Linked DNA regions of Homo sapiens: region 2 is linked to region 1. Evidence: promoter capture Hi-C in human tissues and cell types (Jung and others, 2019). All regions are on one chromosome and are shown on one strand. Each heading gives the region's core, a stretch centred on a gene start or on the middle of the fragment in contact. The rest is flanking DNA. Distances are from core to core; before and after follow the strand shown.

Region 1 (4,518 bases), core at 691-3,190:
ACATGGGAGGGATGGCATTCCAGACTGAACAGGGACAACGTGAACAAAGGCCTAGAGACAGGAAAACACAGGGTTTGTTTAAAAAACAGATTAGTGAGGTGAGGCTGAAGGATTGGGATGGGAGGGGATTGAGATGGGAGCTGGCAATGAAGCCAGTGAGCCTCAGGGGCAGGGAACAGAAATAAAAGTCATAGCTGCATGGAGAAAATGAGGAGGGAGGGCCAGCAACTTTAAACAGGATAGTTACAGCAATTATCTTAGAAGCGACACATTGAGCCTGGGCAGGGTGGCTCACGCCTGTAATCCCAGCACTTTGGGAGGCCAAGACGGGCGGATCATGAGGTCAGGAGTTCGAGACCAGCCCGGCCAACATGGCGAAACCCCGTCTCAACTAAAAATACAAAAATTAGCTGGGCATGGTGGCGGGCGCCTGTAGTCCCAGCTACTCGGAAGGCTGAGACAGGAGAATCGCTTGAACCCAGGAGGCAGGGGTTGCAGTGAGCTGAGATGGAGCCACTGCACTCCAGCCTGGACGACAGAGCAAGACTCCGTCTCGGGGGCGGGGGGGTGGGGGGAGTGACACTTTGAAGAGGTAAAGGAGTAGCCGTGTGACTATCAGAGGGAAGAGTTTCCAGGCAGACAGACCAGCAGTGCAAAGGTCCTGAGGCCACAGGGCTGCCACGCCGATGATGCATTAAAAAGGCCAATGTGACTGGAGCGTGGGAGAAGGGGGAGGGTGGTAGAAAGAGAGGTTAAAGAGCTAAAAAGGAGCCAGTTCCTGAAGGGCTTTGCAGGTCATGAGGGGCCTTTAACTTTCCCTTGGATGAAATGGAGTGCTAGTGTAGGATTTCCAGTAAAGGAACGACGTGCTCTGACTTAAATTTTAAAGGATCGCCTTGACTGCTGTGTAGAGAATCAGCTGCAGGGGGCCAAGGGTGGAAGCTGGGAGACCAGTAAAGAGACTATAATGGAAATCCCGGGGGGCGGGGGTGGATGGTGGCTGGAACCAGGGTGGTAGCTACGTGGTGGCTCGCCTCTGATTCCCCGTGTAAAAAATGGAGTTTAGGATCCCTGCCCTGTGTGCAGCCCACAGCCTCAAGCCCCCATGGGGATGGAATGCCGGAAACCTCTGGCCAGCGCACTAGCAGCCTGGAGAATACGGAAGATTGTGGCAGGATTGTGGGGCACATGGGCAGCTCCCTGCTCGTCCGGGCCCCTGGTGCCCACGAGAAAACCAAAACAGGTGCGTGCCCCGCGCCGCACGTCAGGAGGGCAAGACTCAGTGGAGGGAGGGGCTGTCCACTCGCTCTAGCTCCCCAGAGGCTGAACAGGGAGAACTGGGAAAAAGGACGCCTCCTCAGCGTCCTAGAACGAGTCCTCGGCACCTGGTATTGCATGCGCCCTAGTATGGGGCCGCTCCACTTGCGCAGGTGTTGGCAACATGCGGGGAGCGCCACGGCATGCCCCCAATGAGCCGACTCCCTCCCCCAACTCTGCCCCCTTTGTCTCGCTGGCCCCTACTCCTTCTGTCTGCCTGTCTGTCCCGTCCCAGGTTCAGCGCGCACGGCCCTGCCGGGGTCCCTCTGGCAGTTGCCGTAGCCGCGCGGCCCGACCCGGGGCTCCCAAGAGGAGAAAAAATCATGAATGAAATGGATGCGCTGCTCCCACTCCTCCGCCCTCCTTGTCCAAGCAACCTTGGCATGGGGGCGACGACTGCGGAGACTCCGCGCAGAGTTGCTCGGGAGAGGGAGGCACCTGAGATGAGGTCAGGGGTTAAGGGTCTGTGATCCGGCCCCCTTCGTGCCCCGGGAGCAGGCCGCTCTCCCGGTCCCCCGCCCCGCCAGCCCTGCGCAATTCCCGGCGAGCGGCGGAAGCCCGCCCGGGGGCGGGGCGGAGCCGGGGCTGGGGGGTGCCAAACCCACCCGGCGGCTGCGCCAGCGACTCTGCAGCTGAAGCGCATTTGGTGAGGCGGTCGGGCGAGGGAGCGCGCACGGAGCGCGGGACGGAGCGCCAGGCGGACGGACCGAAGGACGGAGGCACCGAAGGACGGACGCCCCCGCACACGCAGACGCACAGAGCTCGGCGCGGCCCCCGTCGCATACACACTGGCACAGACACAAGCAGGGACACACGCAGACACACGCACACTCGCGCGCGCATCCTCCCGCCAGCCTGCCCGCCTGCTCGCCGGCGCCCGGAGCCCGCTCTGGCCGGTAAGTGCGGCGCCTCCGTCTGCGCCTTTGTGTGCGGAGCCGGAAGGTGGAGGGCGCGGGTCCCTCCTTCGGGCGGCCCCGCAACTGACACCTTCTCCAGCCCTCCCGGCCGAGGAGCCGGCGCCCGCCCCCGCCACGCCCCCGTGGGGCTCTGGGCGCCCGCATGCTGGGGGAGGGGTCCCCCATGCAGAGGAGGGGGCTTGTCGCTTGGTAGCCGGGAGGGAGCGGCAGCCACTCCCCACGAAGCCCGTGCGCGGTTCCGGGGAGGAATCGGGATAGTGGTTTGGGGTCTGAGCCTCTGCGGCCGGCGGAGGCTGGTGCGCGGCTCTGGGCTGCATCGCCTCTCCGGAGCCTGAAGCCCCTGAGGGAGATTGGAAATCGCCGCTAGCCTTCTGGCCTCTAAAGCGCGGCTCCCAGCCTTCCCATTGCTTCGCCTCCACCGACCCTTTAGCTTTAGCCTCCCGCGTCCCACCCTCCCCTAGAATACAAGCTTAGCGCGCTCCCCTCCCCCAGCATGCTGCTTGTTTCTGGTTGAGGCCCAGGCTCCTGCAAAACCGGAGATTGCCCGGGTCAGAGCCTTGGGAGGCTTACCTTATCAAGGATCACAGGGCTTAGAAGATCAGGGCCAGACGAATCCTGGGAACTTATTCAACCTTCTCATTTTACAGATGGGGAAACTGAGGCCCAGTAAGGTGGCGGACCAAGGTCACCAGAGAGTTAGTGGTAAAGCTTTCATTAGAATCTAGGGTTCCTGGTTTTCATACTCATGCTCCCCTCCTACACAACTAGATCCCACCCACATTGAAGCCCCAGAACCCCAAAATTCACCTGAGTGTACCACGAAAGTGTGTAATTCCAGCCCTGCCCCACTTGGAGGGGCAGGTGCCATTCATTTTCTACCTTCCCTACCTATGGTACCAAAAAAAGGGGAGAGGGGGCTTTAATTTGCTTCCTTCAACCTCAAAGGAGAGCTCTCATAACACTCAAACACTCCGGGTTTGGGATTCGTTTGGGAGAATGAAGAAGCCCAGGACCTGAGATCAGATTCCCAGGCGTTAGTCCTGATCCACCCAGGACACACTGAGCCTGAGTGTCCTCAGTTGGACCAGGTGATGTGGCATCCCAGGATTCGTCCTCTTCTCCACTGTGTCCTGACTGCATGCCCTCCCAGTCACCCTTCCCTCCCGCTTGAGGGCCAGATCTTCTACTCCAACCAGGCCCCTGTAGTCATCCCTTTGCGGAGGTCCCCACCTCTTTCTCCTTGGGGCTCGTTAAGGGCAGCCTCTTGGTGCTGCTGACAAAGCTGCTGGGGAAGCTTGAGTTACAATCACACCAGGTTCGGGTGGTTTCTCAGCACGCGGCTCCCTCAAGGGCAGCCAGGTGTCCCCAGAGCTGAGCCTGATGCCTGGTGCAGAGAGGGTGCCCCGAGAGATGTGTTGAAGGAGTACAAGCATAGACGGATGGTGAAGGGATGGAGTCAGTCACCTTGGAGGAGACTGGATGGAATAGTTGGCAAGGAGGGCAGTGTTCAGTCTCCAGGGACCTGAGGTTCTGGTCTCAAGAACTTCCTTTTTTTATTTTATTTCCATAGATTTTTGGGGAACAGGTGGTATTTGGTTTCGTGAGTAAGTTCTTTAACGGTGATTTGTGAGAATTTGGTGCACCCATCACCCAGAGTATACACTGAACCCAATGTGTAGTCTTTCATCCCTCATCCACCTCCCACCTTTCCCCCAAGTCCCCAAAGTCCATTGTGTCATTCTTATGCCTTTGCATCCTCATAGCTTAGCTCTCACTTATGAGTGAGAACATACAATGTTTGGTTTTCCATTCCTGAGTTACTTCACTTAGAATCATAGTCTCCAGTTCCATCGAGAACTTCCTTTTTGAGGGGGGTGAGCAGCTCATCATGGAGCTGAGCCAGGGTGGCCAAGTGGCAGAACTTCAGGGGCTGCCACTGACAGTGTAGTCCATGTAGATGGCATTGGCTATGAAGTTTACACAGACTTCATAATGAATGGTGGCCCCTGGGTTTTTGCCATGTAGGGATTTCTGCCTTGAGAGTGAAGGGATCTGGATTCCAGTCCCAGTCTCTTCCTCACTGGCTGTACGGTGTCAGTATATAACCCTTTTGGGTCTCAATTTCTCCATCCAAAAAAATAACATCATTGGATTGATGATGTTATGAACTATTTGGCGGTGGGGTGGGAGCACGTATTTATGTAACTGCTATGGGCTTCTTTTGCTTTATGAAGGAATAATTTCTGACTCAAGAATGATGTATGTAGAGTACTTAGTACAGTCC
Region 2 (4,518 bases), core at 1,411-3,910, 610 kb after region 1:
AGGCAGAGTTTGCAATGAGCTGAGATTGCATCACTGCACTCCAGCCTGGGTAACAGATCAAGACTCTGTCTCAAAAAAAAAAAAAAAAAATCAGTATATTTTTTCAATATACTGATTTCATTTCCCTTGGATATCAACCCAGGATGTTCCTCCCATCTAAATGTAATTACATATCCTTTGACCAGCGTCTACTCATCTCCCCTTTCACCTAACCTACCCAGCCTATGGCAACCACCATTTTACTCTCAATTTCTGTGAGATCACCTCGTTTAGATTCTACATATGAGTGAGATCATGCACTATTTTTCTTCCTGTGCCTTGCATATTTCACTTAACAGAATGTCCTCTGGCTTACCCAAGTCACTAGAAATGATAGAATTTCATTCTTTTTTAAGGCTAAATAGTATTCCATTGTGAATATGTACCACATTTTCTTCATCAGTTTATCTGTTGATGGGCACTTAGGTTAATTCCATATCTTGGCCATTGTAAATAGTGCTGCAAGAAACATGGGGATGCAGATATCTTTTCAATATACTGATTTCATTTCCCTTGGATATCAACCCAGGAGCAGGATTTCTGAATATATGGTAGTTCTATTTTTAATATTTTGAGGAACTTCCATACTGCTTTCCCTAATGGCTGTACTAAAATACATTCCCACCAACAGTGTATGAGGGTTCTCTTTTCTCCACATCCTCTACAATACTTGTCATCTTTTGTATTTTTGATAGTAGCCATTCTAACTGGAGAAATGATATCTCATTGTGGTTTTGATTTGCATTTCCCTGATGATTAGTTACATTGCACATTTTTTCTTGTATCTATTGGTCATTTTTGAGTCTTCTTTTCAGAGATATCTATTCAGTTCTTTTGCCCACTTTTTCACTGGTTCATTTGTTTTATTGCTATTGAGTTGTTGGAGTCTCTTAAATATTTTGGATGCTAATCCTTTATCAAATGTATACTTTGCAAAATTAGTAGAAGGAAGGAAATAATAAAGATCAGAGCAGAAATAAGTGAAAAGAAGACTAGAAAAACAAAAGAAAAAATCAATGAAATAAAGAGTTGTTTGTTTTTAAAAGGTAAGCAGATTTTCTCCATTCAGTAATTCCAGAAATAAATAATTCATATGTTTAAAATTATGTACCACTTTGAATAGTGTGATGAAATCTCTTGTGGTCCTGCTCTGTCCTTCCTGGGATGTGATTCACCCCTTTGCCTAGCATATCCATGCTGTGTACCCTATCCATCCATTTGTAGCCCTCTCAGTTGCTAGATCAGTTGTTGTGGTATCACAGTGCTTGTGTTCAAGTAAACTTTATTTTACTTATTAATGGCTCCAAAGCATTAGAAATAGGGATGCTGGCAATTCAGATACGCCAAAGAGAAGTGATAGAGTGCTCCCTCTAAGTAAAGGTGAAAGTTTACAACTTAATAAGGAAGAAAAAAAATAGAATGTGGAGGCTGCTAAGGTCTACAGTAAAAACTAGTTACATCATAAAGGAGGCAAAAAAAAATCATGCTGGTTTTGCTGTTGCACCTCAAACTGCAAAAGCTATGGCCACATTACATGACGATTACTTAATTAAGATAGAAAAAGCATTAAATTTTTGTGTTGAAGAGGTGAACAGAAATGTGTTTTGGTTGCTGTCAATTGAAACACTTTTCATACAACCAGTGGGGGTCTTGGAATTTATCCCTTAAAGATAAGATGGAACTACTGTAAAAGGAAGGAAATAATAAAGATTGGAAAAAAAAGTAAAAAGCAAAGGGGCCAGGTGCGGTGGCTCACGCCTGTAATCCCAGCACTTTGGGAGGCCAAGACGGGAGGATCACGAGGTCAGGAGATCGAGACCATCCTGGCTAACATGGTGAAACCCCGTCTCTACTAAAAATCCAAAAAAAAAAAAAAAAAGAAAAATTAGCCGGGCATAGTGGCAGGCACCAGTAGTCCTAACTACTCGGGAGGCTGAGGCAGGAGAATGGCATGAACCCGGGAGGCAGAGCTTGCAGTGAGCTGAGATCACGCCACTGCACTCCAGCCTGGGCGATAGAGCGAGACTCCGTCTCAAAAAAAAAAAAAAAGCAAAGGTACAATAGAAAAATAACAATAATGATGAAATTTATATTTTTGAAAAGATAATAAAATTGATAAATTCCTAGCAATACCAATGAAGAAAAATATAAATAGAGAAAACACAAAACTCACACTGGGAATCAAAGAGAGACTATCATGGTACGTACTACCAGTATTAAAAATACAGAAATAAAAAGCTCCTTTGAATGATTTTTTGTCAAAATTTGACAATTTAGAAGAAATAGAAGTACTCTTTTAAAAACGCACCTTCCCAAAATTGATCAAGAAGATACAGTAATTGCAAATAATCCTGTATCTACTAAGGAAATTGAATTTATAATTAAAAACTCTTCTACAAAGAAAGCTCCAGGCACACATGGCCACACTGGTGAATTCTATCAAACACTTAATAATTAAAAAAATCAAGATCTAACCTTCAAGCTTCAGAAGTATAAAAAACATGAACAAATTAAGACCAAAATAAAAAGAAACAATAAAGAGCAGAAATCAGTGAAACAGAAAACAAGCAATAGAGATAAAATCAAAGCTGTGATAGTACCATGAAAAGATTAATGATATTCATAAATTTTTAGCAATACTGAACAATAAACAAAGAGAAAATAACATCATTATCAAGAATGAGAGTGGGAATATTGCTATAGTCTCTAAAGACATTAAAAGGATAATAGAGAACTATCACGAACAAACTTATGTCAATAAATTCAAAGCTTAGATGAAAGGGACACTTTTCTTGAAAGACATAACTCACCAAAACTGACATGAGAAGCAATAGAAAATGTGAATAGCTGTATGTCTGTGAAAGATATATATATATATAGTTGTTGTTTTTTTTAATGAAGTCTCACTCTGTCACCCAGGCTGGAGTGCTGCAACCTCTGCCTCCCGGGTTCAAATGATTCTCTTGCCTCAGCCTCCTGAGTAGCTGGGATTACAGGCGCACACCACCAAACCTGGCTAATTTTTGTATTTTTAGTGGAGATGGGGTTTCATCATGTTGGCCAGGCTGGTCTTGAACTCCTGACCTCAGGTGATCCGCCCGCCTTGGCCTCCCAAAGTTCTGGGATTACAGGCATGAGCCACTGCACCTGGCCAAGATACTACATTTTTAATTAAAACTTTCCACACATGCACATGCAAAAATTTAGATCCAGAAGGCTTGGATAAATTCTGTTGATATTTAAAGGGAAAAATCATATCAAATTTATACAAATATTTTATCATAAATTTCAGAAGGAAAGAATATTCTCCAACTTATTTTATGAGACCATGTATATCTTTAATAGTGAAATCTGGAAAAGATATTACCAATAAGGAAACTACAGACCAAAATTCTTTATGAATATAGATGCAAAAATTCTTAACACAGTAGTAGCAGGTAGAATCCTGAAATATATCAAAAGGATAATACAGAATGGCTAGTGGGGTTTATCTCAGTAGTGCAATGTTTGTTTAACATTTGTAAATCAATCAGTGAAATTTGCCACATTAACAGATTAAAGGAGAAAAATTATGTGAATATCTCAATAAACAGAGAAAAAGGATTTGACAAATTTCAACACCCATGGAGAAATGATTGACGGTCAAAGAGTATAAAACCTTAATTAAATAGGAGGAATAATTTTTTTCTTTGAGATATATTACATAGTGTGGTAAATATAGTAAATAATAATGTAGTACACATTTGAAAATAGCTGAGATTATACATTTTATTTTTTTACTTCGATAAGTTTTTGGAGAACAGGTGGTGTTTGGTTACATGGATAAGTAGTTTAGTGGTGATTTCTGAGATTTTGATGTACCCATCACCAGAACAGTGTATACTGTACCCAGTGTGTAGTCTTTTATCCCTCACCTACCTCCCACTCTTTTTCCTCCAGTCCCCAAAGTCCATTGTATCATTCTTATGCCCTTGTGTCCTGATAGCTTAGCTCCTACTTACAAGTAAGAACATCCAATGTTTGGTTTTCCATTCCTGAGTTACTTCACTTAGAGTAATGGTCTCCAACTCCATCCAGATTGCTGTGAATGCCATTATTTTGTTCCTTTTTATGGCTGAGTAGTAATCCATGGTGTGTGTGTGTGTGTGTGTGTGTGTGTGTGTGTGTATATGCATATGCATATGCATATATATATACATATGCATATATATATGACATTTTCTTTATCCACCTATTAATTCATGGGCATTTGGGCTGGTTCTATATTTTTACAATTGCAAATTGTGCTGCTATAAACATGCATGTGTGAGTGTCTTTTTCATAAATGATTTCCTTTCCTCTGGGTAGATATCCAGTAGTGGAATTGCTGGAACAAAAGGCAGATCTACTTTTAGTTCTTTAAGGAATCTCCACACTGTTTTCCATAGTGGTTTTACTAGTTTACATCCCCACCAGCAGTGTAAAAGTGTTCCCTTTTCA

The links. Contacts are between HindIII fragments. The study calls those that stand out against the background at their distance.
Region 2: a fragment that was not itself captured here is called in contact with the fragment with the promoter of PTPN5 in region 1 in 1 of the 25 tissues and cell types used here (spleen).

The regions. Positions count from the first base shown.
Region 1 is chr11:18,789,220-18,793,737 of GRCh38, reverse strand. PTPN5 (protein tyrosine phosphatase non-receptor type 5) reads left to right here and starts at 1,940. Exons shown (of 15, transcript NM_006906.2): 1 at 1,940-2,213. The HindIII fragment of the contact is 10,569 bases long and covers 1-3,235 here.
Region 2 is chr11:18,182,821-18,187,338 of GRCh38, reverse strand. No RefSeq gene overlaps it. Among named protein-coding and RNA genes, the nearest start is that of MRGPRX4, 12 kb to the right of the region's middle. The HindIII fragment of the contact is 3,276 bases long and covers 1,023-4,298 here.